Linked DNA regions of Homo sapiens: regions 1, 2, 3, 4, 5 and 7 are each linked to region 6. Evidence: promoter capture Hi-C in 16 types of primary human blood cells and fetal thymus (Javierre and others, 2016). All regions are on one chromosome and are shown on one strand. Each heading gives the region's core, a stretch centred on a gene start or on the middle of the fragment in contact. The rest is flanking DNA. Distances are from core to core; before and after follow the strand shown.

Region 1 (3,496 bases), core at 144-2,643, 1.8 Mb before region 6:
TGGGTAGGTAGATGGATGAAAGAGTAGATGGATGGTTGGATGGGTGAGTAGGTAGATGGATTAGTGAGTAGATAGATGAATGGATGGATGGGTAGATGGATGGATGGATGAAGATGAATGAGTTGGTGAATGTACGTATGTATGAATGTATGGTGTCTACTATATGGCAGGTTCCAGTGAGGATGTAGAGATGAATAAAATGATGTCTCTTTGATCCAAATGTTTGCTTTGAAATGAGGGAGACCTTCTCAATAGTCAAGTAGTTGCATCAAAGTATATTAGGTGTTCTGAGGGAATATCAGATCTCAAAAGCACATTTGGGATAGAAATGAGGAAGGGATCCATTTTTGCTGCTGGAGGGTGATCAGAAAATGCTCTATATGGGAGATAACACTGTATCTGATCCACGAAGGATAAGTGGTTATTATTCAGGTAATCAATGAATTTAAAAGCTTCCCTGCAGCCTAGGAAAAGGGAAAGAAGCTGAACACAGTCTTAGAGTCTAAAAACTGCAAGCTATTTGGTGTGATGGGACAAGAGGTGTGAAAGATCTGGTCTTGATTGCTACTGCATATTCAGTGTTTAGCATTCAATTACCCTACTATTGGCACTTCATAATAGTACTCAAGAATAGGTCCTCAATAATTATTTGTTGAAGAAAGGAACAAAAGGAGAGCACAGGGAAAAGTAAAGCTGGCAAGATTGACCTGTGCTGGGTACTGCTGGGCTAAGGAATGTAGATGCTAGTCAGAGGAAAATGGACCATCACAGAAGGGTTGATGAGATGCATGTTTCTGATGGTCACCCTGCTAAGCACAGGAACTGTGTTGGGGAAAGTCCAGGAAGTGGCAGGAATAGACAGAGTGGACTATGGCTATGGTCCGAGTGTGGGATGTTGAGGACCTGAGCTAATCAGGATAGTGTACGTGAAAAGGTAAAGAGGGATTCTAGAGACTTGAGGAAGGTAGAACTAGAGTGCTATCCATGGTTCCATATGGATGAAGAAGGGAAGAGGGAGGGAATATAAAGAGAAGAATTTTCCATGCCCCTGCTGGAATGACTAGATGCTAGCCACTGGAATACAAAATGTATGGGGTGGGGTTCACCATGAAGCTAATGAAGGTTATGTGCGAGAATCCCTCCCTTTCACATCCACTATCAAGGTCCTAAACCTACTCTTGTATTCATTGTTTTCTTTTTATTTATTTTTTCCTAAAGAGCCCCTTCCTGGCCAATTATAGAATCCTCAGGCTCCACCAAGCCTGGATCTTCCCCTGGAAATACAAGGAGAACAGTTTGGGGGAAAGGATTCCATTTGGATTGTGAATTCCATTTGGGGCATGGTAGGTTAGAGGTGGATGAAAAACCTTGAGGTGGAGATGTTCTGCAAGGAGCACAGTGTGGGACAGGGCTTGAATCCTGGCTTCATGCTGTGTGGACATGGGCAAGTTGTTTGAGCTCTGTGCTCAGTAAAATGGGATGTTAATGATAGTACACCCTGATAGGGTTGTAAAGATTAGATGAGACAACATAGGTCAAATGCTTAGAACAGTGCCTAGCACATAGTGAGTGTTGAAAACAAGTTGCGTGTTGGCTTTTGGTATTCTGTGGGGCAGTGTATATCTGAGAGTCACTGGAGTTGAGGGTGGCCTTGGGGGGAGTTGGATTGTGTAGCAAGAGTGTATTAGGGCTTGATATGAGGAAGACCAAGGACAGAGCTCTGATATTTATCAGGGTGAGCAGAGGAAGAGGAACCAGCAAAGGAGGCTGACGAGGACTAGCCAAAGGGGTCCTGGAAGCCAGGGGAGGGGAGAATACCAAGCAGACACTCAGTCATGGGTGTCACCTGCTGCTAAAAGTCTAGCAAGAAGGTGACCACAAGAGGCTGCTGGCATGGGTTTTGGGGACATCTCAGTGACCTTGTCAGAGGGCTCTCGGTGGAGAGTTGGGTACTGAGGAATGAAAGTCCCATGCAGACGACAGGTGTAGATGGTCTTCTGCAGAACCTTGGCTTTGGGAAAAGACAGGAGGCAAGAGGCAGAGGAGAACAGAGGCAGAGAGAAGGTGTTAGGGTGGTTGATTTGTTTTGCTTTGGGAGGACATGATTCACTGTTTAAAGATGAGATTCACAGGCTTTGGGGGCTGTGATGAAGAGTTGGTGTGTAAAGTTTAACAATTTGAGGAAGAAATAAAATAATTGATTAAAAAAAAAGTGAATGCCTTGAAAGAATTAGGAAGGGGAGGAACAAGTGACACAATAAGTGGCCAACCCTGAACTGCTCTCTGAGTCTCGAAGGAAGGGGGCAAGGGTGGGAAGGTTATAAATAAGCTTCTAGGTAGGAGGACAGGAAATGGGGCAGTTATGCCTGATAGCCTCAGGTTTGTTGCTGTGAAGTAGGAGGATAGATCATCTGCAGAAACATAAATACACAGCTTCTCCCACACCGTGGGCACTTAGGACAAATTATGATTACGAAACTTAAAATCTCAAGGGAATATTAGGGTTAGAGGAACCCGAGTTGATGGTAAAGTTATTAATATCCCTACAAATTGTTTTACTTCGATTAATATAAAGCAGTGAACAAAGCATACCGAGTAAAAACAACCTCAGAGGCAATTTGCACATCTTTGTTAGTGCTCTACCGTTAATTTTAATTTGCAAACCTTTGTTTGCTTGTAGGTGCTTGAAGCATTTCAGGATCTTCCTACCCTGAAGTTTCAACTTACAAATAAATGCTAGCTAATAAATAAAGTTATGAATCATTTCAAACTTACAATGAAGTTGAAAGAATCTTACGATTAACACCAATATACACACAACCTTGGTTCAACCATTAATGTTTTACTAAGCTTGTTTATTTAAATAAACCTTTTAACTACAAAAAGGAAAATTACAAAAGTACAGAGTTCCCATATACTTCCTAGCCTGTTTCCCTTATTATTAAAATCTTATATTAGTATGATACATTTGTAATAACTAATTAACTAATATTGGTGTGTTATTAACTAAAATCCATACTTTAAGTGGTGCGATCTCAGCTCACTGCAACCTCCGCCTCCCAGGTTAAAGCAATTCTTCTGCCTCTGCCTCCTGAGTAGCTGGGATTACAGGCACATGCCACCAGGCCTGGCTAATTTTTTGTATTTTTAGTAGAGACAGGATTTCACCATGTTGGCCAGGGTGGTCTTCAACTCCTGACCTTGGAGGTGTACTTACAAGGTATTTCATAGAATGTCCCTCAGTTGGGATTTGTCTGATGATTTTCTGGCAATTACACTGTGGATGTGGATTTTTAGAAGAAAGACCGCAGAGGTAAAGTGCTTTTCTCATCTCATATCAAGGATACACACTGTCCACATGTCATCGCTCTTGTTGACCTTGATCACCTGGCTGAGGTAGTGCTGGTCAGGTTCTCCACTGTGAAGTTACACTTTTTCCTTCCTTTCCATGTGTACTTTTTGAAAGGAAGTTACTAGGTGCATCCCACAGTTCAAA
Region 2 (4,002 bases), core at 872-3,371, 1.2 Mb before region 6:
GATATCCATGTGAACATCTAGTGTGTGCTAGATACTGTCCTAACTACTGTAGACACAGTATGTAGTACCTACTGGGTGCTAGATATTGCTCTGAGTACTATAGTCACAGTGATAGATAAGACAGACAAAATCCCCAGCACTGCCAGGTGCGGCGGCTCACGCCTGTAATCCCAACACTAGGGGAGGCAGGTGGATCACTTGAGGTCAGGAGTTTGAGACCAGCCTGGCCAACATGGTGAAACCCCGACTGTACTAAAAATACAAAAATTAACCAAGTGTGGTGGGGTACACCTGTAGTCCCAGCTACTCGGGGGACTGAGGCAGGAGAATTGCTTGAACCTGGGAGGCAGAGGTTGCAGTCAGCCGAGATTACACCACTGCACTCCAGCCCGGGTGACAGAGCAAGACGCCGGCAAAAAAAAAAAGAAAGAAAAAAAAATCCCTAGCACTTTACTTGTATCAGCCCATTTAATCTTCATAGTAACCTCAAGTTATTACTCTTCCTGTAACATACAAGAAACTCAAAGAGATGTTAAGGAACTTGCTCATAGCCACACAGAAAGTGGCAGAAAGCGGATTCAAACCTAGAGTGGAGTCCAGAGTCCCTGCTTCCTCACCAGGCATCACACTCTATTACACATACACTGGGCTTGTTTATATCCTCGTTACATCCAGCCTCAGTAAGGATGGAGACTGAGCCTATCTTGTTGACCACTGAATTCCTAGCGCCTGGCCCACAGTAGAAGTGCAATCAATGTTTATTGAACTTTTAAGAAATGCTCATTGGACGGAAGGGATGTGAATGAACATGAAGGGCAGCTATGTCCCTTCTTCTGGCTATATTCTTTCTTGCATTTATCAAGATTGCTTCAAAAGACACGTCTTGGCTGCCAATTTTGATTGCAGCCATCGAGTGCCCTGTGACCCTTCAAGATGGATTCGTACCTCATCTGGGGCCCTGCCATCTGCTGACATGTTTGAAAACACAAGCTTCAGCCAACACCAAGTGTTAATAGAGTTTGGACAAGTGGCTGTGTAAGAGGAACAAAAGCAATAATGGAGAAAGAATGTAATTGCCCGAAGCTCACTTTGGAGAGTCTCCACTCCAGGGGGAAATAGAACTAGCAGCAGGTCCACTTTGGTGGATTCAAGTGAAATGCGCTCATCGAAATGCGTAAGCAGTGTGCCTGAAGTCTCTGGACAGGTGTTGACAGCCTCCGCACTGAGGCAGCATCCTGACATTGCATCCACGAGGGTGACTGCGATGACCCAGCAGAAGCCTCTGGCAGCCACCCCAGAGCTCAAACCCGGGCGGGCGCTAGTCAGCAGCAAATGAGGCAGAAGAATTACAGCCAGAGGGAACCTAGAAGGAGGAGGTGTTCCTCCACCCACCAGGAGAGAGCAGAGAGCAGAAGAACAGCTAACCTCTGCCAAACACTTCCTGCATACCAGACACTATTCCAAGGGCTTTACGCACAGCCACCCATTTCATCGTGAATCTGCAGTTCTTGGGGTGGGTGTGATTATTATCGTCTCTGTTTTACAGATGAGGAAACTGAGGTAGTGCAAGATCAAGTAAACATCCTGGGGTGAACACAGCAAAGAAGGGGCCAAGTGAGGATTTCACCCCAGACAGGCTGGCTCCGGAGCACACTCTCTCAGCCATGCACCACACTCACATCGCCTCTCACGAGTGGAGATGCATTTGGTCCCAGCACTGTGCCAGGTGCTTTAGGCCTCTTGCTGGATCATGATAACAACCTTATGGGCTGCATATTGTAGCGCACAGTTTTTAGCGAGCCAGTGACATGCCCAGCCGACAAGACGAAAGTTAGGATTCCAGTGAATTCTCTCAAACAGTGATCTCAACTGGGAGCGAATTTGCCCCACTAGAAGAGACATTTGTTGATGTCTGGAGACATTTTTCTTGTCCCAACCTGGGGGAGGGGAGTCGGGGGTGTCAGTGCTACTAGCCTCTAGTGACTAGAGGCCAGAGATGCTGCTAAACATCCTACAGTGCACAGGACAGCCCCATAACAAAGATTTTCCTGGCCCACAATGTCAATAGTGACAAGGTTGATAAACCCTGCTCTGAAACATCATGCTGGATTTCACTCTCTCCATTCTAGTACTCCTATAGGCACATTCACACACACATTCTCACACACTCTTGCACTCACACATGCACACACACACTACAGAGTTGGAAGAGAGTTTATGGTGAAATCAATCAAATCAGCCCTCCAGCCCCAAATGCAGAGAGCGTCTGGCACTCTGCAGGATCCTGCAGCTAGAAAAGTGGGGTGAAAGGGGGTGGCTCCTGCTCTCCTGAGCTTCTGTGAAATCTAGTCGAAGAGACAAAATAAACACACAAGAAACAAAGAGCTGTCTTCAGAAGTGAAAGGCTAAACTGCAAGTCACAGCAGCTGTGGACTCTCAGAGGGAAAAAGAGGCCCCACTAAGGAAGTGAGACTGGAGGGAGAGGGAGGGGCAGAGACTGGCAAGGGGAAGAACTGGACTGAGAGCCCCCAAGGAGGTGGGGAGAGGGTGTGACAGCAGGGAAGAGAGGGGGGAAACCAGCTTGATGTGTGAGGGATGAATGGCAGGGCCATCTTAATGGAGTCCCAGGGAGAACTGGTGAGCTTGGTAGAGTGACCATCTGCAGGAGTCCACTGTTTGGAGACGAGTTCAAGAGTACTCTATTTATTGCTGTGCTGTGCTCTCACAGGACCTCGCCTCCTGACAGGGAAATGGATGAGGTGGGAAGATAAAGGCAAGATGGGGCAACTCAGTCCATCTGAATCCTATAAGGCCACCAGAAAATTTTAAAACCTCCAACTCTTACCCTTTACCCATCCTCCTCCCCCTCCACTCATCTACCCACCCACCCATCCATGCATCCACTCACCCATCTATCATCCATCTACCCACCCATCCATCTAATCAACAACTATCCATCCACCTATGAATCCACCTCTTCATCCATCCAATCAGCAGCCGCTGAGCACCTGCTCTGTGCTGAAGAAGAACAACAGACATGGCCCTGCCATCATAGAGCTTGCATTCTACAGAGGTGCCCAGATCATTCAACATGAGGCTGCAAGGAAGTATGAAGGGGATGATGGCAGCTCTAGTAACATGAAGCAAAGGGGGCACTGCCCCCAACCTGTCCAATGGGGACATTAGTACTAATAATGGTGCTCTCTGCTGCCTCATACAGAAAGAGAGGTTATGACTGGACTGTAAGCTTCCCGAACTGTTTTATTCATCTCTGGGCCCAAACACCCAGCTAAGGACCATCACTCAGGACAGGCTTACTGAACTTAATTGATCTGAACAGACTGTAAGAATTGTTTTCCGACTCTTGACAAGCTCCTGGCTTCAAGAATTCAAACCTTAGGCAGAATGCTTTGGCTATACCTATTGTATTTGTTTACTAAATAGTTACAGAGTAAAATAAGCACATTTTGCCAGGGACCTTAACTGGCTTCCATGAATGAGTTTTGGCGACATTACAATGCAGAACTGCACATGTGCATATTTTAATGGGAAGAAGTGTGTTTCTAGCGGTCACAGGATTCTCAATGGGACCTATGCTACAATAATGATTAGTTTCTCTGACCTACCACGTTCCTGCTATTGCAGTGATGCTGAATGGACTCAAAGTTAACCCTCCATACAGCTCTGCCCTCCAACAATGTACCAGCTAGTGGGGAAGATGACATGCAGTTACCTAACTAAAAGACAAGGTGAAAAGGGGCAACTTCCATAAAATAGAGGGAATTTTCAGAGAGACCTCAAAGATCTATGCCTCAGTTTCCTCACCTGCAAAATGAAGACAGAAGTTATTTTTCTTAGGGTGTCTGTGAGGGCTAAACATGATGACACAAGGGCTTTGTAAATGTACCATGCTATGGGACTGGTACTCAAACAGATATATAGACCAATGGAACAGAACAGAGACCTCAGAAATAACACCACGCATCTACAACCACCTGATCT
Region 3 (3,494 bases), core at 642-3,141, 1.2 Mb before region 6:
CAAGCAGACTTGGCTTTGGAGACTGTGCCTTTCACCTCTGAGCTGGCAGTTTCTCATAAGCAAATGAGCTGGAGCTGGGGCTGGTGAAGGAGGAGTTTGTGGAAGCAGGAGATCAGGGTTAAATGGAGATGGGGAAGGAAGCAAGACCCAAATAAGCAGGTCTGTAATAAGAGCAGAAGGCAGGATGCAAAGAAAAGCAGGCATAGCAAGCAGGGGCCAGAGACCCGGGCACCACAGCTGCTCTGGCCAGAGGGGCCTGATCACACTCACAGAGGAAATAAGAGCAACACACAGAATCAGGACCACCCAGTGAGGGCTAGCAGTAGACCAGCGTGAATTCCTGGGGCCAGGAGAGTACCACATTGTGGTCCTCAAAAAGCACAGACACCTGGTAAAAGTTATCCCTGCCTCCAGAGAAATAAACTGTAAGAAATGTTTAGGATAGTATGAGTAGTAAGTCAAATTTTAAGCTTGAATCAAGACCCTGGAATTTCTTCTTAATAATTTAAATCTGAGTTTTTGAAAAAAGCACCCTTGCTGTTTCTCCTAAGTGAAAACATGATACCAGCTAACATTTATTAAATTTATGAAATAAGTACCAGATATTGCATGGAGCACTTTGTACCCATAATCTCATTTCATCATTGAAACACAATGAACTGGTTTATCCCCATTTATAGATGAGGATGCTGAGGCTCAGAGAGGCTGATTCAATCACTAACCCAGGTACTTATAGAGGCAGAGATACCACTATACCCATTGTCTGTCCTGCATGAACATCTCCTCATAACTCTTACTCCATGCTGCCCCTTGCACTCTAGCCTGGGGCAGCATGAGGATCTGTGAGGAGCAGAGACAAGTGGGAGCAACTCCTGTTGCAGCACAGTGTTCTGGTTCCTCTCCCTTTTAGAGAGTTATCCTAACTCTGCAGTCTGATTCTCTGTGCCTGCCAGTAGGACAGGGAGCTGCTTAGTGTCCATCACATGGAACAGGGAAGCATGGTCTGCTCCAAACTTTGTGTAATTCCACAAGCTCAGAAACCTTGGGCATCTGCACAGCTGGTTGTCTGAGCTTCAGGATTAAAGGCACTGCAAGGGGCTTTGTAAAGAAGCTGAATCGTAGAAGATTATCACTTCAACTCTTTCTGAATGTTCCTTACAATGCTCAATACCTCCCAGGAGCTCAGTCATTCTACAAAAGCCTAGTGGATATTGGACATATTTATGGCCACCAGCATCTTTCAGACACACTTCCTATAATTTAGGAATTACTCATAAGACTGCCTCCCTGTGGCAGAAGCTAGAACCTGCTCTGCCAGCTTCCTTTGCAGCTACAGCACTGGCATGTGCCTAATCAGAGACACTTGATCCAGACTTTGACTCAGGAGCTAGTGACACAAGAAGCGAGGGACAAGGAACTCACTCTCTTCTTTCTTTGGCTATAGATAAAAATGAATCCTTCTGAACAATATAGTAAAATAAAAATTCCACCCCTTCTCCACAACGACTCTTCTTTCCTTACCCAACTATACGTTGCATACTGACACAGGAAAATCCTTAGCCCTTGCAAGTGTTCCTGGGCAGGATGTGCAAAAAATAATGGCAAGGGAACAAATAATGGGAGCTAGATCCGCTGCAGTTATGCAAGCAGGGAAAGAGAATAAAGGATTCACAGGAAACAGACACACAATACCAGATACAATTAGCCCCAAACCAATAATTCAATTCTGATTTCCCAACAGCTGGGTTAGACATCTCAAAGCATTGAAACTTCTGTTTTCTAGTTTCCCACAGAAGATGCCCCCTCGTATGGAGAAATACCCCAATAGCTTCCCAATGCCCTAGAGACTCCACTGGAGAGCAGATCATTGCTAAAGATTCTAAAAAGAACAAGACACAAAACCTACCTTCTCCTAGCATGAGGTCCTAGACCGTCTTTGCAGGTCAGCCTACATTTCTGTTCATGAGGAAGGATTCAAGATTAGGCTTGGGTTGCTTTAGAGACCTCTCCTGACCAAATGTCAGTGATGTGCTGCTATTCTAGGGATACAGCAAGGAATAACAGATCACCCTGCTCCTGAATAAGCCAAAAGTCACTTAGCATTTACGTCACAGCAGCACTGAATTTACACCAGTTAAAGAGTTAGGGGTTCTGCAAGATTATATGCCTTGAGGCAGAGAAGAGCAAAACAAATGCACAAATGTATTTTGTCCCAGTAGATGGAAAACACAAAAACTAACAGACGTAAGACATGAGAGAGTTATACTGGCTGGGCGCAGTGGCTCACGCCTGTAATCCCAGCACTTTGGGAGGCCGAGGTGGGCAGATCACGAGATCAGGAGATCAAGACCATCCTGGCCAACATGGTGAAACCCCGTCTCTACTAAAAAATTAGCTGGGTGTGGTGATGCGTGCCTGTAATCCCAACTACTTGGGAGGCTGAGGCAGGAGAATCAGTTGAAGGTGGGAGGCGGAGATCGCAGTGAGCCATGATTGTGCCATTGCCCTCTAGCCGTGATTGCGCCATTGCTCTAGTGACAGAGCAAGACTCTGTCTCAAAATTAATAAATAAATAAGAGAGTTATCTTAACAGAAGCTCTGCAGTCTCATCTCCATGTGCCTTCCAGTAGGAAGGGGAGCCGCTCAGTGTCCATCTCATGGAACAGGGAAGCTCAGCCTGCTCCAAACTCTGTATAATTCCACAAGCTCAGAACCCTTGAGGATTAGCGCAGCTGGTTGTCTGAGCTTCAGGCACTGCAAGAGGCTTTGTAAAGAAGCTCAATCCTTGAAAATGGAAGGAAAAAATGGAAGGAAGGAAGGAAGAAAGGGAGGGAGGAAGGGATGGAAAAGGAAAGAAATATAGGAGAGAGGAGAAGCAATAAAATAAATACACCAAAAGGAAGAACTGAAAAGGTCTGAGAAGTAGAAAAGACATATTCTACTTATACATAAAACATTCTCACTTGGAAGATGGGATAAGATATCCTTGACTTTTAAGCTGTAACTGCAATGTCTGAATTCTTGAACTCCTCCAAGAAAATCACTCTTAGATTCACTGGAGTCTCATTGGTTTTCCCAAATCACTGAGAAGTATCTCTCAAACCTAGAATACCCGACTCAGACTTGACTAAATGACAAGCCAGAGGAATCTGAAACAGACACTTCACTTTCAGAATGACCTAAGTGCATTTGTTCTGTCGCATGGTTCAAGACACTCACATCTTTCTATTCATAACCTGAAATCTCAAAGAATGTGTTAAGAGAATCCCAAATGATTGCCTGTTTCAGATGCACTGTCAAATATAAAGCTTTAGCAGCCCATCCATTGTCATGATCACAATCACAATGATGGTCTTTTTTTTTTTTTTAAGAGTCAGAGTCTTGCTTTGTTGCCCAGGCTAATTCAAGTTTCTTTTGAGAACTCATCTCTAAAATAACAAGTCCACACCATAAGTGGCTGACCTGGCTATGACTCCAGTAATGCACACATGACC
Region 4 (3,715 bases), core at 705-3,204, 1.3 Mb before region 6:
GTAATCTCAGCTACTCAGCCAGCTGAGGCACAAGAATTGCTTGAGCCAGGAGGTGGAGGTTGCAGTCAGCTGAGATTGCGCCACTGCACTCCAGCCTGGGCAACAGAGTGAGACCTTATCTCAAAGAAAAAAAAAAAATCAGAACCCTTAAACCATTCATGACTGAGAGTACCTTGGTAGCCCCCCACCCAGGTTTAGCCAATAGACTCAAATACTTTTTTAAAAAAAGATGATTCTGAGAATTCCTTATGTCCACGATTCAGATGCAGCCAACACCTTTTCTTCTTGAGAATTAGGAGTCATCTTTACCCACTTTAAGACTGCTAAGCAGAGTAGCAAACAACGACTCTCCTTTTTCTTGAGGAATGAAACATAAAAACAAAAACCCTGTCTTAAGAGGGGAAAAACCAACTCTCTCTGGGTCTGGAGCAATATTAAATTTTATCAGTTACTCGGCAGCCAGCAAAGCACAGAACGAAGCAGTGTGAAACCGCCCTTCAAAGTAACTGGAGTTGACAACTAAACTTGCTCAGTGAGGGGGGAGAAAAGGAGTTAATAGAGGAAGAAGTCAGGCCTTTTATCCTTCACCTGAGCTGGTCCCTTTCATATGCTAAGAGACCAGGAGCAAGCTGGGTGAGGGAATTCAACACTATGATTAAAAAAAAATCAACAGCCAGGCTAAGGCAGACATCTCCCCCTGAGTCCTACCATGACACCCAGGGTTTCAAAGAATAAGGTTGGCTTGCTGCTCTGGGCTGTAATTACCCAAACAATGACAATCTATTGAAGACAAGCATCCTGTCCCATTCCCCAAACACACAGCGCCCCCCAAATGGAAGCTTGGCATCCTGCACTGTAATTGCTAAATTTCCACACGTGGTTCTACCCTGGGCAATGCCTCCAGTAGGTGGACATAGTCTCTATTCTTGGATGTTCCATGGAACATCAATGGGTTGTTCCATGATGCCAACTAAAAGCCAGTAAAAATGGCTATGCTCTTGTCAGCAGAGAAGGTCCAAACAACCAGGAGAAAAATCCAGAACATTTGCTCTGGGGGCCTTTTTTATTAGTTTTCATCTAAGTGTTCAATTTTGAGAAGTTGGTGCCTGTAGAAAGCAAACAGCACATTCTACAGTCTGGATTTTCAAAGTTGGATCTTTGCATATTCCATGTCCCTTCTATCCCATGAAGATGAATTCATGAGTACAAATTAATGTGTTTGAAATATTTGCCATTTTGTGGTTTATTAAATGCATATTGGAAGATGCTAGATTTTTTTTTTTTTTTTTTTTTTTTTTGAGACAGAGTCTTGCTCTGTCTCCCAGGCTGGATTGCAGTGCCATGATCTCGGCTCACTGCAAGCTCCACCTCCCAGATTCACGCCATTCTCCTGCCTCAGCCTCCAGAGTAGCTGGGACTACAGGCGCCCACCACCACGCCCAGCTAATTTTTTGTATTTTTTTAGTAGAGACGGGGTTTCACCGTATTAGCCAGGATGGTCTCGATCTCCTGACCTCGTGATCCGCCCGCCTCGGCCTCCCAAAGTGCTGGGATTACAGGCGTGAGCCACATGCACCCAGCCGGAAGATGCTAGATTTTATAGACTGGACAGGGTTCTTAAATTAAGAAGGTAAAGAACTGAGAATGAGCCCAGCTATTCCTCTATTTCCAGTGAATACTAAAGGAAAAAAAAAGACAGGTCATATTAGAGCAATGGTTTCTGAGCATGGCCTCTACATTGGTAGCATCAACAGCACCTGGGAACTTGCTAGAAAAATAAGTTACTGGACGCCAGGACCCCACCGTCCAGACTAATGATCAGAAACGTGTTTTAACAGCTCCTCCAGGTTACTGGGGGTGCCTGCTCAGGTTTGAGACCTGCTCAACACCTGTGGCTCTTCATGCTGGCTGACAGTTAGCATCACCTGGTAATCATCACCTTTTCATTGCAGTGCCCCACCCACCCCAGACCAATTCAGTCAGAATACTTGGGACAGGGGCCTAGGTATTACTGCTTTTGATGCAAGATTTTTCTTCTCAGTCGCTTTGCAAGCCGGGGACCCCCAGCCAGTGACGCCCTGCCCAGGTCTCACTCAGCCCATCCAGCTCACCAACTATGTTATAGCTTGTACCCATATTCAGCGGTTCCGGATCTCTTGTGCCGCACCCAAGAAGAATGAGGATACGTGGGGCATTGAAGGGTGAGGAGGGCGGAGAATAATTTTCTTGAGCAGTGAAAACGGCTTTCAGTGGGGGGGCGGGGGGATGGTGGGGGGTGGAGGTGGGGCACTGGTTCCCCTACCCCAAGATTGGAAAGTTGTCCCCTCCCCGTCCCTCCCCACACCTTGTGTGACTGGGTCTGGGGCCTTTTATAGACTCAGAATGGGGACTGCCGATTTGTTTGTTAGTACGCAAAAAAAGGTTAAAGGGAAGACACCACTCAAAGGTGGGCATGACAGTGTAGAAAACCAATTAGGAAAAGGTAAGTTTATGTAAAATAAGCGAAGGGTGGGGATCAATCAGAGGAAAGTGTGCCAAATGGTAGGACAAGTTCTCAATCCAGTCTGAGGATTTAACATACAGCTTGACTTTCAGGTTTTAAACTCTTCGGCTTGGAGATGGGGTTTCACCGGGGACCCACCCCATCTTCCTACCCATTTGGCTGACTCCTGCTAGTTTGACTTTTAAAAAGCTCCCCGGGTGGCTTGTAATCCCAGCACTTTGGGAGGCCAAGGCAGGAGGATCACTTGAGGCCAGGGGTTTGAGACCAGCCTGGGCAATATAGTGAAACCCCATCTCTACAAATTAATTAATTAATTAACTAATTAACCAAGTGTGGTGGCTGGTACCTATAGTTGTATCTACTCAGGAGGCAGAAGCAGAAACCTGGCTCAAAAAAAAAAAAAAAAAAACTCTCGAGGTGATATGACTATGCAGGCAATGAGGCAATGTTGAGAGCCGCTATATATTAGAACATGAGAAATTTAGGTACTTTTGGGCCTCTCATTTTCAGTTTAGCTCAAAGTAATCATGGCTACTGAATGCCTCCTATTCATTGAAGAAGCTTTTGAGAAAAGAAGAGAGATTTCCATCTTCATGAGCAGGAGAGGTGAGATGTGAAGCTCACCAAAAGCATCAAAATTTCTACCAAATTCAATGGTGATAACAGTATTTAATAACTCATCCAGCAAAGACAGTTGCTCACCCGGAGAAAGGGGTGGGTTAGTCCCCACAGTCAGAATTCATTATAAGAGCACTGCACTCAGAGGCGGTAAAGAGTGACACGCACCTCCCACACACCTCAAGTCCAGATGCCACAATCCCCCACGGGGAGCTCAGAGCCTCCCACTCACTTCTTGGCTTTGAAGCCCTAAGTATCGAGGGTGTGTAAGACAGCAAGCAGCCTCTTCTCACCAGTGTCTGATGTCAGGGAATGTGCAAAAGGGTGACAGCCTGTCAGGGTAGAGCTCTAGGGGGCCACTCCCCTGGGATGGGCAGAGCCTCAGCATCCTACTTCACAAATAACTGTGAACTGGGGCCATCTTTCCACCAAACCAGGAACTTGACAATTAGCACATTATAACTGGATCCCCCAAACTGGGGGCCACTGGCATATTCCCAAGGACCCACATTTTTTTCCCCATTTAAAGGGATCTGAGCATTACTAAAATGTAAAAAACACTGTGGATTGGCTTTTCAACAGAAAGAGGCAAAT
Region 5 (3,904 bases), core at 533-3,032, 1.2 Mb before region 6:
GAATAAACCCAGAGCCAGATAGAACAGGGGCTGGATTCTAAATCTACTTGTTTAGATCTGGCTTTCCCTCCAGTTCTCCATCAGTTGCTCTAGATCCCACAATAGCCCTAGATCTCACCATAGCCCTAGATCCCAAGGGATGCTCCAACCCATTATGGCCACTCATCCTGCAGGTGGGCTATAAGACAGTATCGTTTGAAAGACAACCTAAACCACTCACTGACTTTAAGCGAGACGAGGAGCTCTGCTTCTCCCATTGCCTGCCCGATTCCGGAAAGCGGTCACCCTTCACAGTCAGGAACAACTGGAAGGTCAGAAATAACTGGTCCTGAAGCAACAATGTTCCTAGGTGCATTTGGGCTAGTTCGATTTGAGACCTATTCTGCCTGCATTTATTCCATTGTTCTTTGAGAGAGCAGAATAGGACCATCCCTCCCGACACAGCATGTCAGGGAAGAAGGAAGAAGCTTCTATTATTTCCTTACTCCATACATTTGGCTCAGTTAACAAGGTAAGTTTATCAATTACTTGGAAATCCCTTCATAAATGCAACCAATGTGCATACTGGGGACATCTGGTCACTGTGCTAGGTGCTGTGAGAGAAAATGAGACAAGCAAAGCAAGCGCCTGCTCTCATGGAGACAATAGTGAAATGTGAGGTTAGAACAAGAGAACCCCTCAAAAGTAGAAATCAGGCCTGTCCTTTCTGTGTTGACCTGGGTATACGGATGAGGAGATGACTGAATGCTGCAAACAACTCTAAAGGAAGGCAGTAGAATAAATTTCAAATTTATAACGCACAATTCCACAGAGACTCGAGGAAGGGAGAAATCATAAGTGAGTGGCATATCAGGAAAAGTTGCAGGGAGATGGCACCAGAGATGAACCTTAAAGAATGAGGGAAAGTGGGAGGGAGCTGAGCACAGCGAGTGACAAGGCACAGAGGTCAGAGAGCACAGGGCACAGGAGGGAGAGATGGATTCCCTTTGCTGAGGAGCAATGGTGGGAGAGACCTGCTCAGATGGGATAGCGGGGCCATATGAAGACCTCCAGTACTGACACAAATAAAAACCAGGTGACCTTACCTGTAACATTTTGTGCTTTATGAGGTATCCCCTATACCAGTCTGCAAAAAGAAAACAAAGAAACAGTTCCCTCATTTATTACAAGTTTGTTGCTAGTGTTTTTCTGTTTTGTTTTGTTTTGTTTTAAACTAGTAAAACTACTGCAAATTGCTTTAGACCTTGGGTACAGATCAAACTCTGGAAGCTCATAGTCTTTGAAATCTGTTGAATTGGTTGCCAACATCTCAAAATAACATCTAAAAATAGACTTCATATAAAGGTGCTCCTGATTTTGAAAAATCAGGAGCCCCAGTAGTGCTGGCCAGTGCTCCCAACTGGCTGGGAGGAGAAAAGCAGCAGGGTCCACCAGACAGAGCATCTGCCTCCAGTCCACCAGCCTCAACGCAGCCCCTCCCTTGTGTCCATTGCCTTCCTGGGCCCTGTGACCATCTGCATGCTTTCAATTCCTGCCTTCGGGACAAAGAAATGCTCCTGATTTGGGCAAACATCCTAAAATAACACTGACAGTTCTAACAGCAGCAAATAGTGTCTAAAATGCGATTTACAAAAGTTAGTCGTTACAAAACAAGTAAGTTTAGGGACAGATAAAGGGACAGGGATTTTAAGAGATCTACCCTTTGCAGGAATATTATATTAAAAAATGTATCAATGAGCAGAAATCCAAATTACACACAGTCCTCAGACAAAATACGCCTGAGTGCAGCAAGTCCTGATGACTGTAATGAGTCGGCTGGCCTTTGAAATGATTCCAACACAGCCAAGGAGTGGCATTTGTCATCTTTGTAAATAAAACGCGTCTGTCAGGAGCCTCACTAGCAGACCCCTCATTACCGGGCTGACAGATTGTTGATGAAATATGTTCCCAACAGACATACAACCAAGCCCAAAAACAAACAACTTAACATGCAAAGTCACCCTTCATAGTCATGAGCCAGCCTGACGGCCAGGTCCTAAAGGAAACTCTGAAGCAACAGGGGGCCGTGATAGCTTCTTTTTGAGTGACAGAAAGTGAGAGGAAGGAGAAAAGGAGAAAGGAAGGAGAGAGGAAAAACAGAAGGAAGAAAGGGAGGTTGGAAAGAGAATCTCAGGTGGGAAATAAAAATACCATTCTAAGCACTCTTTATATATTAAGCCCTTCAATATTCATAACAACCGCATGAAGTAGGAACGGTTATTATCCTGTTTTACAAATGAGTGGCCTACCTGAGGCACAGAGAAGTTAAGTGACTTTCCAAGGATCACACAGCTAGTAGGTTGCAGTGTCAGGTTTTCAACATAAGCAACTATCACCTATGCTTCCTATATTATGAGGGAATGATTTGATGGTTACCTAATATTAATATTTCCAACTTCTCAATGTCTAAATCTCCAAAACTAAATCTCCACTAAGCTACTTTCCACCTGAATACTTCCAGTGATGGAAGATGTTCTACTTCATGAAGCATCACATTCTATTTTCAGTGGCCTCTAATTATTTGTCAATAACTGTTGAAAAATAATCCATAATTAACAATACTGCTTATACTTTCTAAGTGCTTCCTATGTGCTGGTAACTCTGTTGACATTTTTTGTTTTGTCTTATTGTAAATTAATCTTTACAACAATCCTATTAAGTAGGTACTATTACTGCTTCAGCTCTGCAAATGAAAATAGACAGGCACAGAGATTAAGCAGCTTGCTGATGGTCACACAGCTAGTGGGTGATGCAGCTGAGATTTACACTCAAGCAACACCCTGCTGCGCTGTGCTACAACAACCTCCTTTAGTTGCCCCTTTTCACCAACTAGACAGAAATGCAACTTTGTAATATTATTATTACCTGTCTTTCACTGGTCACCTGCAACATGCAAAGCTGTATGCTAAACGTTGTACAGGCATTCTCTCATTTAATCCTCAGAGCGACACTGTGAGCTAAGTATTATCATTCCCATTTTATAGATGAGGAAACTGATATTCAAGTCAATTGATGGGCTGGGCCAAGATCATACAACCAGAGTTCAAACTCAAGCTTATGTGACTTCAAAGCCAATCCTTAAAGCTGGTTGGCCACATTGTCTCCCATGTGATGGGGTTAGAGTGCAAATAGAGATAGGGTCATCTGGTAGCAGTGACTTGAACCCACATGATGGCTAAGGTCACTAAAATCCACCAAAAAACAGAAAAACAATCGAGGGACCAATAGATGGTCCCTACACAAAGCTCATGTCCACATCTGCATCTCTGTGACAGGGACTCCATTAAGGTAACTTGTCTTCCTGGATCCAAGGAGTTTGCCTGCTCTGACCCTCAAAACTCGGTTATGTGTGTACGTCTTATAGGTTTCCTAATTCTCAGAGTTGCACCTCACTCCTGACGACAGGATTCTGCTGACACTTACACCCAATATTCTTATTCTGGCTCCCAGGTTCAAGTTCAATCAATATTAATTGTGCACCAACTATGTATATTGCACTGGGCTACATGCTTCCAGGGATAAATCCCCAGGGATTCATTGCAAGAAGGCTTTATCTCCACTTGCTGGATGGTGACACTGAGATCAAACAGGTGGGGAAGAAATTCCAACACATTCTTTAGCAGAAAAGCAGCCAAACCAGAATCCAAACCCATGCCTAGTGCATCAACTGCATCCGGACTATCCTTATGACTTTTTTCTGGCATTTTTACTTCTGCCAGGTCATTTATCTCTGACCACTGATGTTGGTTCCCTAATATGGTCACCAATCAGCTATATCTATCTATGCTCCAAAACATGACTGGGCAGATAACAACGGTTGGTACAAAAGAGAAAAATTCCTGGACAGTGGACACCATGATCAAAA
Region 6 (3,864 bases), core at 852-3,351:
ATAAACTTACTTCCACATTTCCCCTCTCTACCAAGGCGTGGCATAGACCATGGGAATCATTAATGTTCCCTTTGATGAGCTGTGTTTCTTTCTCCTCTGAGATTTTTGCTGACGTTAGCATATTATCCTTAATAAGAAAATATTGGCCAGGCATGGTGGCTCACGCCTGTAATCCCAGCACTTTGGGAGGCCTAGGCAGGTGGATGACTTGAGGCCAAGAGTTCAAGACCAGCATGGCAAACATAGCGAAACGCTGTCTCTACTAAAAATACAAAAATTAGCTAGGCATGGTGGCGCATGCCTGTAATCCTAGCTACTTGGGAGGCTGAGGCAGGAGAATTGCCTGAATCCCAGAGGCTGAGGTTGCGGTGAGTCGAGATCGTGCCACTGCACTCCAGTCTGCTTGACAGAGCGAGACTCTGTTTCAAAAAAAAAGAAAAAGAAAAAGAATATATTAACCACACATACATGTGTTTTGGGAGACAGGAATCGGAGTAAGTATATAATGGGATATGCCTCATGTCTCATATCCCTAGTTCTTTTCTTTGGCTCGATAAACACTCTGATTTAGCAAGAGTAGTTAAGTTTCAGGTTGACCAACCTGCTTTTATTCCCAAATCCTATGACCTGGGACTCTTAAAAAACCCAAATGTCCTTTGTCACATTCAAAATAGCTCAAGGGTCTGCCTTTCACCCTTTCTGGGACTAAACAATTTTCCCATTTCTTCCTGTTTCCAGTGTCTTAGGTCCTAGACTAGACCAGACCAGGCTTTGTAGTTTAACATCTAAAACTAAAGACATGTCAATTCAGAAAGAAATAAAGCTTCCAACTTAAACTGCAAAACTCAGGGGGAGTTCCTCACCTGAAATTTCAGAATACTTACTGGGAGATAGCTACAGCCAAAACCAAATTGCCAAAAATGAGCATACATTATGTTCCAGGAGCTGAGCTAAAAACACTTTTCAGAAATTACCTTCATGATTATCACAACCAAGTGAGGCAAAGATAAATACATACCGATAAATAAATGGCTCAGAAATGTAAAGAGCTTGCCAATTTACTTGACTAACTTGTACTTTGTGACTGCTGATTAAGTATACAGCCGTAACAGGACAGAGTACTGTGAACTATCTTCCTACCATCCCTCCCCACCTGGGCATAAAAGGTAATGGAACTGTTCCGCTTTCACTTTTTTTTTTTGTAGGGGGACGGAGTCTCACTCTGTCGCCCAGGCTGTGGTGCAGTGGTGTGCTCTCTGCTCACTGCAAGCTCCGCCTCCCGGGTTCACGCCATTCTCCTGCCTCAGCCTCCCGAGTAGCTAGGAATACAGGGACCCCCCCCAACACAGCCGGTTAAGTTTTTTTGTATTTTCAGTAGAGACGGAGTTTCACTGTGTTAGCCAGGATGGTCTCGATCTCCTGACATCGTGATCCGCCCACCTCGGCCTCCCAAAGTGCTGGGATTACAGGCATGAGCCACCGCGCCCGGCCGCTTTCACTTTTATATGGTGTGGCTGCTCCTTCCCGACGAATGCTGAGGGCACAGAGCAAGCTCCGCTGGTCTGATAATGAATCACCCCATGGGCTTATTAGGAATCCTCTCGCTCAGTAACCCGGGAAGAACTGCGGCTGAGCTGCAAACCAAGACCCAGAGCTCTGAATGTATTCCCCCCTTGTCTATCTCCCCGCATCCCCTAAATCGCGTGTGTATGCAGAAGAGGAGGTGGATTGTAGGGAGAGAACTGTTCTGAACATGCCAGGCTCCAGCCCACCGAAGACGCTGGTTTGGGGGAGGCCTGGGAGAGGGTGGGGACCCTCCATTCCGCTGAAAATCACAGTCACACGGGCTTTGAAATGATGGGTGCTTCCTCTCTCAACCCTTCCTGTTCCCACAGGGACCGTGCCGCTCCACTCTGAGAGGACCAGGATGGTCCTCGCCTAGCTGTCCCGCCCCCGAAGCCGCTTGGGCAGGAGTCAGAGCCTGCTCCATCTCTTTCAGGCCTTCCCGCCGGTCTCCTGCGTCCAAACCTGCTGCAGCAGCCGCGCGGAGCACTCAGACACCAGTACGTCCATCCTCCCATCAGCGTCTCACTCGCCAAGTGGACGGAAGCGGAAACGGTCAGCCTCTCCCGGAAGCGGAAACCCCCTCCGGTCCGCTGTCCCGTCGGACTGGGTGCTGGCGCCTCTGCTGCCTCCTGGCGGGATCCAGTAGACACTGCGAGGAGAACCCGCGGGGATTTCGGTCAGGAGCGAGGCCGCAACTCAGGGACGTTTGGGCGAGGGGAGAGGAATTGAGCAGACACTAACCAGAGCTGCTCTGTGCTTGGATAGACTAGGACAGTCACTGACCTAGAGCTTCTGGCTCTCAAAGGCCTCACTTTGCCCCTTTGTGAAATGGGCACAAAACTAACAAATCCATTCATTTATTCAACAAACATTTATTGTGTACTTTAAAATGCCAGACAGTATTCTAGGCTCTGGGGGCACAAAGAAAACAAAACAGACACGATCTCCCCTCTCACGGCAGACACATTTTAGAATGGAGAGAGAAAATAGACCAAAAAAGGCAATAATCTCAGGTAGTTTTAATTGCTAGGAAGGCAATGTGATAGAGTGACTTGGGTGAGAGAAGACATCTCTAAGCAAGTGACATTTGAGTTAAAATCTTATTTATTTTTCCAGTTTTATTGAGGTATAATTGACAAAGATTGTATATCATAACGATGTACAACGTAATGTTTTGATATATGTATACATTCTGAAATGATTACCACAACCAAAATAATTAACATAACCTTCATCTCATACAGTTATCATTTGCATGTGTGTGTGTGTGTGTGTGTGCGCGCGCGCGCGCGCGCGTGTGTGCTGTGAACATTTAAGATCTATTCTCATCCTGGGAAACAGCTAAGACCTCGTCTCTACAAAAAAATGGAAAAATAGCCGGGCATGGTGGCATGTGCCTGTAGTCCCTGGTATATAGGAGGCTGAGGTGGGAGGATCACTTGAGCCCAAGAATTTGAGGCTGCGGTGAGCCATGATCATGCCACTGTACTCTGCCTGGATGACAGAGTGAGACCTTTTCTCTCTCTATTTAAAAACAAACAAAACGAAACGAAAACGAAAACTGCAAGTATACAATATACATTACATCTCTAGAATCTATTCATCCCGCCTAACTGAAACTTTGTAACTTTGAGCAACATCTCCCATCTTTCCTACCTCTGAAGCCCTGACAACCACCATTCTATGCTCTGCTTCTATGAATCTGAATTTTTTAGATTACACATATACATGGGCTAATGTAGTATTTGTCTTTCTGTGCCCGGCTTATTGCACCAACATAATGTTCTCCAGGTTCATCTATGTTGTCACCCATAACAGGGTTTTCTTTTATAAGGCTGAATAATATTTCATTGTATATATATTGAGTTAAAATTATAAACAGCAAACCTGGGATATATGTTCTAAGAGGGCAGGGACCTTAATTATCTTGTTCACTCTTCTCTATGACTCCAGAACTTAGAAAGTAGCACTCTAAACGTTTTCGCTTCCGTGCCTCATAAAAGTATTTTAAAAATTCATATCCCAGTGTATACTTTTAAAAGTTGACATCGAGCTAGGCACAGTGGCTCATGTCTGTAATCCTAGCACTTTGGGAGGCTGAGGCAGGCAGATTTCTTGAGCCCAGGAGTCCAAGACCAGCCTGGAAAAAATGGTGAAACATCGTCTCTACCAAAAATACAAAACATTAGCCAGGCATGGTGGTGTGCACCTGTAGTCCCAGCTATATAGGAGACTTAGGAGGCAGGATTGTTTAAACCCAAGAGTTTGAGGTTGCAGTGAGCCATGATCTGGCCACTG
Region 7 (3,796 bases), core at 93-2,592, 1.8 Mb before region 6:
AAGAGAGAAAAGAAAAGAGTTCTTAGGTGTGAGGCCCTGCAAGGAGCAAATGGCCTGGGCTACCTTCACTGATGCCCTCAGCACCTTCTAAGGTGAGGCTAACACCAGCTCACATTGATGAGCTAGTGCTGGGCCTGGAGCAAAATGTGTATTTCATTTAAGCTGCCCACCAGCTTGTGAGGCAGGTGCATTACCGTGACGGCGGGGCTCCTCAGAGTGTGTATAAGAAGAAAACTGTGCATGGCCAAAGCTATGCTTGAAAACCCTCAGGAAGGCACCACCTCAAGGACCAACATAGCATCACTTAGTAAAGGCAACAGCCTTGGAACAGATGACTCGTGTGTGTGTGTGTGTGTGTGTGTGTGTGTGTGTGGCATTAGATGAAGTAGTAACTTGTGTTTAGAGGTTGCCTTATTGCACAAATATAGTTGCTTTTATACACTGGACTCACCCTCTGCCAATAAGTTGTTCAGTTATGAGAAATGAACAATGTCTGAAACTAAGAAAACAGCAAATTCTCACCTCCTATCTCCAGGGAATGTGCTCTTTGGCTAGAATATATGGCAGAATCAATAGTGAATAAAATATATTGTGGAAACAATAGTGAATGGAATATATGACACTACCAATAGCAATTGTTAAGTTTTTTTTCTTTTTAATTTTTCTTTTTAGGTTTGTCTAGTTGAATGCATCTAAGTTTTATGTGCATATGAAGAATCACTGTTTTCCTATTATACAGATTTGGAAACTGAGATTCCCAGCTTTTAACTCCTTGCCTAAGGTTGCATAGCACAGAAATAGTCATATCAGAAACTGAGCCCTGTCTGCACAGTGTAGCACCTTGTTCAGCCCTGGGTGCCTGACTCACTCACTCCTTGAGGACCCTCTCATGACAACTGTAAAGAGGCAGCTGAAAGAATCCCAGTCTTTGATGGTGGGAGGGGAAAGTGGTTGGAAAGCATTAAAAAAACATGCTCCAGCAGTTCACTGATGTGGGAAATTGTCTGTATTTCAGGTCAACCGTCAGGATAGATTTTGGTCTGCAAAGCCCCAGCTGAGCAAGAATGCAGTGTAGACATATGGGTGCCCAGAGTTTAAAGGAAAATTACTCAGACTCACATTGGAGTTTAAGACCCCTTCATTGCCTCTCCTACTGGGTTGGGGTGACTGGAGCCAGTGGGGAATTACCAACCCTGTGGCTCTCTCTGCATCTCAAGCCTCCAGAGCTGGGCTTCCTTGTTTACTTATTTAGAGCCCAGCAGAGGAAGTGGTAAAGGAAACTAGCTGAGTCGTTTTCTGAGAAGAGACCATATTTGTTCGCAGAGGAAGCCGTTGCTTTCTGGGATCTGGCTACGCCAGAAAAGACATCGGCTCCAACAGGGGTGTTCCACAGGGTAGCTGGGAGTTGGAAGAGCCAAGAACGCCTCCGAGCTCTGGATTTGAGCTTCTCTGCCCATGGGTGAAGCGCCCATGCTCAGCTTGTGAGCTTCTTCCCGGGAGAGCAGCCATGGCACTGAGGAATGTGCCCTTTCGCTCAGAGGTCCTGGGCTGGGACCCCGACAGCCTTGCTGACTATTTCAAGAAGGTAAGCCTTGCTCTTGTGTGAATGGTCATGATGCTAGTGCCCTTGGTGGGCTGAGCTGAGGCTTGACGATGGAATTGGGGCAGAATGTGGGAGGTGTATAAGATAGCAATGGAACCCTATGGCAACTTTACTGGTTGAGTGAGCGCCATATAGACCGCTGAGTTTTCCTGACCATGAGTTCCGGAGAGAAGGATGGGAGCAGAAGCCCTCAAATGAGTATGTGCCTATTATGTGCTAGGGTTTGAATTCGGTGTCTCACAGGCACTGTCCCATTTAGCGCTCCCTACTATGTTGTGAGGTCAGCATTGTTATCCCCTTGACTCAGCTGCAAAATCAGCTCAGGGAAGTGAAATGGTCCGAAGCCCTAGGGACTACATGTGATAGAGGCAAGACTCAAGCCACACCTATCTGGTTTTAAAGTCCATGCTCTGAGATGCAGAGAACTGTTGTAACTGCTAATGAGATCAACGCTACTTACTAGAAAGGGGAGACGTGGTGTCCTGGAGGCAGGAGAAAGAATAGGCAGGGTGGGAGGGCTGGATAGAGGACTATGATGAGCAGTGCCAGACACAGCATTTGGGCTTTCACTGCTCACGACCCTAAGGGGGGTCCTCAAGCTCCCGCCTGGGGCAGTCTCCTTGGAGCCTTATGAGAGTCTTGTGAAGCAGGACAGAAAACTGATGTGAGCCCCAATTTATAGCTATGAAAACTGAGGCCCCTAGAGGAAAAGAGGCTTGTGGCGGTGCTGGGACCAGAGCGTTGCTGTCTTATCTTCTGGACTTAGAGGAAAGGTTGAAGGATCCCTGTGCTTGGTCATTGGCAGAAGGGGACAACGCATCTGCTTGGGCAGATCTCAAGCCACATGACTTAGTTATAGTCCCTCTACCCTGACCATGTGGTAAGATGACTTGTGCGAGACGGTTAAGCTTCTAACACCCTCATCCCTGCAGGCTGGCATCGGATTCTGTTGATATTCCAGACTGTCATAAAGATGAGATTGTAAAGCTAAGATGGTAGAAGTCATCTAATTCAGCTTCGTGTTTTTCCTGGGGAAATTGAGATTCAAGAGGGTAGACGAGGTTCCCTAGGACGTATAGCCAAACCTGGGGTCTATGCATTTCCGAGGCATTTATAGTCACAGCTGTTCTCCCCCAACCTGAAGAAGAAAATGAGAACATGTTGAACTAGGTGTGGTATGGTAGGGGTACAGTTCACAGATCCTGTTTTTTGCCATATTTTGTGCTTTCATTTCTGTTATTTTCCTTCTGCAAGGTCATAATAAACTTAGATTTCAGCAAATATTGTTGCGCAACTGGTTTTTTGAAGGATGTTTCTAAATATCTTGCTCAAATATAGACCAAATAAGATAGGGCAACAAGGTAAAATTTGCCAAGAGGGAATAAAGTGGCATGTTACCTTGATAAGGGAAAAAGAAAGGAATTGAGAATTATGAAGAGAAAGACTTGGGACGGGCTGAGAGGCACAGATAGGCCTAACATTCAGGTGTGACCAGGAGAATTATACAATCCAATTGAGCAACAGAGAATTGATCCCTAAAACTCCCATCAGTACAGGGAGATGGACCACGGGTCAGGGATGGTACAGGAAGACCTCACTGCCTGAGCTGGGGGAAGGGAGAGTTTTCTTCCTGGAGATCTCAGACCCCAGGACAAATCTACAGCACCCAGGCAGGTTCCTTCTTCTGCCATAAATGGACTGAGGGAAGAAACTAGGAGACTGAGGCAAATCTGTGATCCTGGAAGTTCTAGTCCCTCCACAGACTTGGATAGAAACCCTTCAGATTCTGAGTACCTCAGCCCCCTGAAAGAAACTACCAAACGAATGGACCGCAGAGTCATTTGGGAATGGATCTTAGCTGTCAAACATGACATGTAAAGAATTGATCTGCAGATGCAAACTCTACCCAAGTAGTGGGGTCAGGCCTCCCTTGGAGACAGCTCTCGACTCAGCTCTGAGGTCGGACACACTTTACCCTGGCTCTGCCACCTGCTAGCTTGGCGACTTTCCTGTAGTTGCTTTGCCTCTCTGTGCCTCAACTTCCTCATCAGTGAAATAGAGATATGAACAGTAACTAACCCAATGGGTTGGTTGTGAGGATTAAAGCAAATGATGTGTGCAAGGCACTCAGCAGACAAATGGATCCTAATGCGTGTTCCTTCTGCCCTTTTACCTTCTCTATTAACTGGCTCC

What was found. The method cuts DNA at HindIII sites, captures the fragments that hold promoters and counts their contacts. A CHiCAGO score of 5 or more calls a contact.
Region 1: a contact is called between a fragment that was not itself captured here and the fragment with the promoter of RARS1 in region 6, in 1 of 17 cell types (fetal thymus). The highest score is 5.2, in fetal thymus.
Region 2: a fragment that was not itself captured here is called in contact with the fragment with the promoter of RARS1 in region 6 in 2 of 17 cell types (naive CD8 T cells and total CD4 T cells); the score reaches 6.5 in naive CD8 T cells.
Region 3: a fragment that was not itself captured here is called in contact with the fragment with the promoter of RARS1 in region 6 in 5 of 17 cell types (total CD4 T cells, monocytes, fetal thymus and 2 more); the score reaches 7.2 in total CD4 T cells.
Region 4: a fragment that was not itself captured here is called in contact with the fragment with the promoter of RARS1 in region 6 in 1 of 17 cell types (naive CD8 T cells); the score reaches 5.0 in naive CD8 T cells.
Region 5: a fragment that was not itself captured here is called in contact with the fragment with the promoter of RARS1 in region 6 in 3 of 17 cell types (naive CD8 T cells, total B cells and activated CD4 T cells); the score reaches 7.6 in naive CD8 T cells.
Region 7: the fragment with the promoter of LCP2 here is called in contact with the fragment with the promoter of RARS1 in region 6 in 4 of 17 cell types (naive CD8 T cells, total CD8 T cells, activated CD4 T cells and 1 more); the score reaches 6.7 in naive CD8 T cells.

Annotation. Positions count from the first base shown.
Region 1 is chr5:170,326,226-170,329,721 of GRCh38, reverse strand. No RefSeq gene overlaps it. Among named protein-coding and RNA genes, the nearest start is that of LINC01366, 3.4 kb to the left of the region's middle. RefSeq lists an enhancer at 1,793-1,892. The HindIII fragment of the contact is 1,877 bases long and covers 455-2,331 here.
Region 2 is chr5:169,646,236-169,650,237 of GRCh38, reverse strand. The region is part of intron 1 of DOCK2 (dedicator of cytokinesis 2); the gene reads right to left. Among named protein-coding and RNA genes, the nearest start is that of DOCK2, 11 kb to the right of the region's middle. RefSeq lists a silencer at 92-151. The HindIII fragment of the contact is 2,257 bases long and covers 993-3,249 here.
Region 3 is chr5:169,719,795-169,723,288 of GRCh38, reverse strand. All of the region lies in intron 22 of DOCK2 (dedicator of cytokinesis 2), which reads right to left. Among named protein-coding and RNA genes, the nearest start is that of DOCK2, 84 kb to the right of the region's middle. RefSeq lists an enhancer at 3,339-3,494. The HindIII fragment of the contact is 2,838 bases long and covers 473-3,310 here.
Region 4 is chr5:169,805,417-169,809,131 of GRCh38, reverse strand. All of the region lies in intron 26 of DOCK2 (dedicator of cytokinesis 2), which reads right to left. Among named protein-coding and RNA genes, the nearest start is that of DOCK2, 170 kb to the right of the region's middle. RefSeq lists enhancers at 370-947, 3,582-3,631. The HindIII fragment of the contact is 2,225 bases long and covers 842-3,066 here.
Region 5 is chr5:169,666,510-169,670,413 of GRCh38, reverse strand. DOCK2 (dedicator of cytokinesis 2) reads right to left here. Exons shown (of 52, transcript NM_004946.3): 3 at 1,086-1,126. Among named protein-coding and RNA genes, the nearest start is that of DOCK2, 31 kb to the right of the region's middle. The HindIII fragment of the contact is 2,626 bases long and covers 470-3,095 here.
Region 6 is chr5:168,484,708-168,488,571 of GRCh38, reverse strand. RARS1 (arginyl-tRNA synthetase 1) reads right to left here and starts at 2,101. Exons shown (of 15, transcript NM_002887.4): 1 at 2,029-2,101. The coding sequence starts at 2,073. The HindIII fragment of the contact is 3,317 bases long and covers 826-3,864 here.
Region 7 is chr5:170,295,323-170,299,118 of GRCh38, reverse strand. It overlaps LCP2 (lymphocyte cytosolic protein 2), which reads left to right and starts at 1,342. Exons shown (of 21, transcript NM_005565.5): 1 at 1,342-1,585. The coding sequence starts at 1,508. RefSeq lists an enhancer at 2,160-2,239. The HindIII fragment of the contact is 7,744 bases long and covers 1-2,513 here.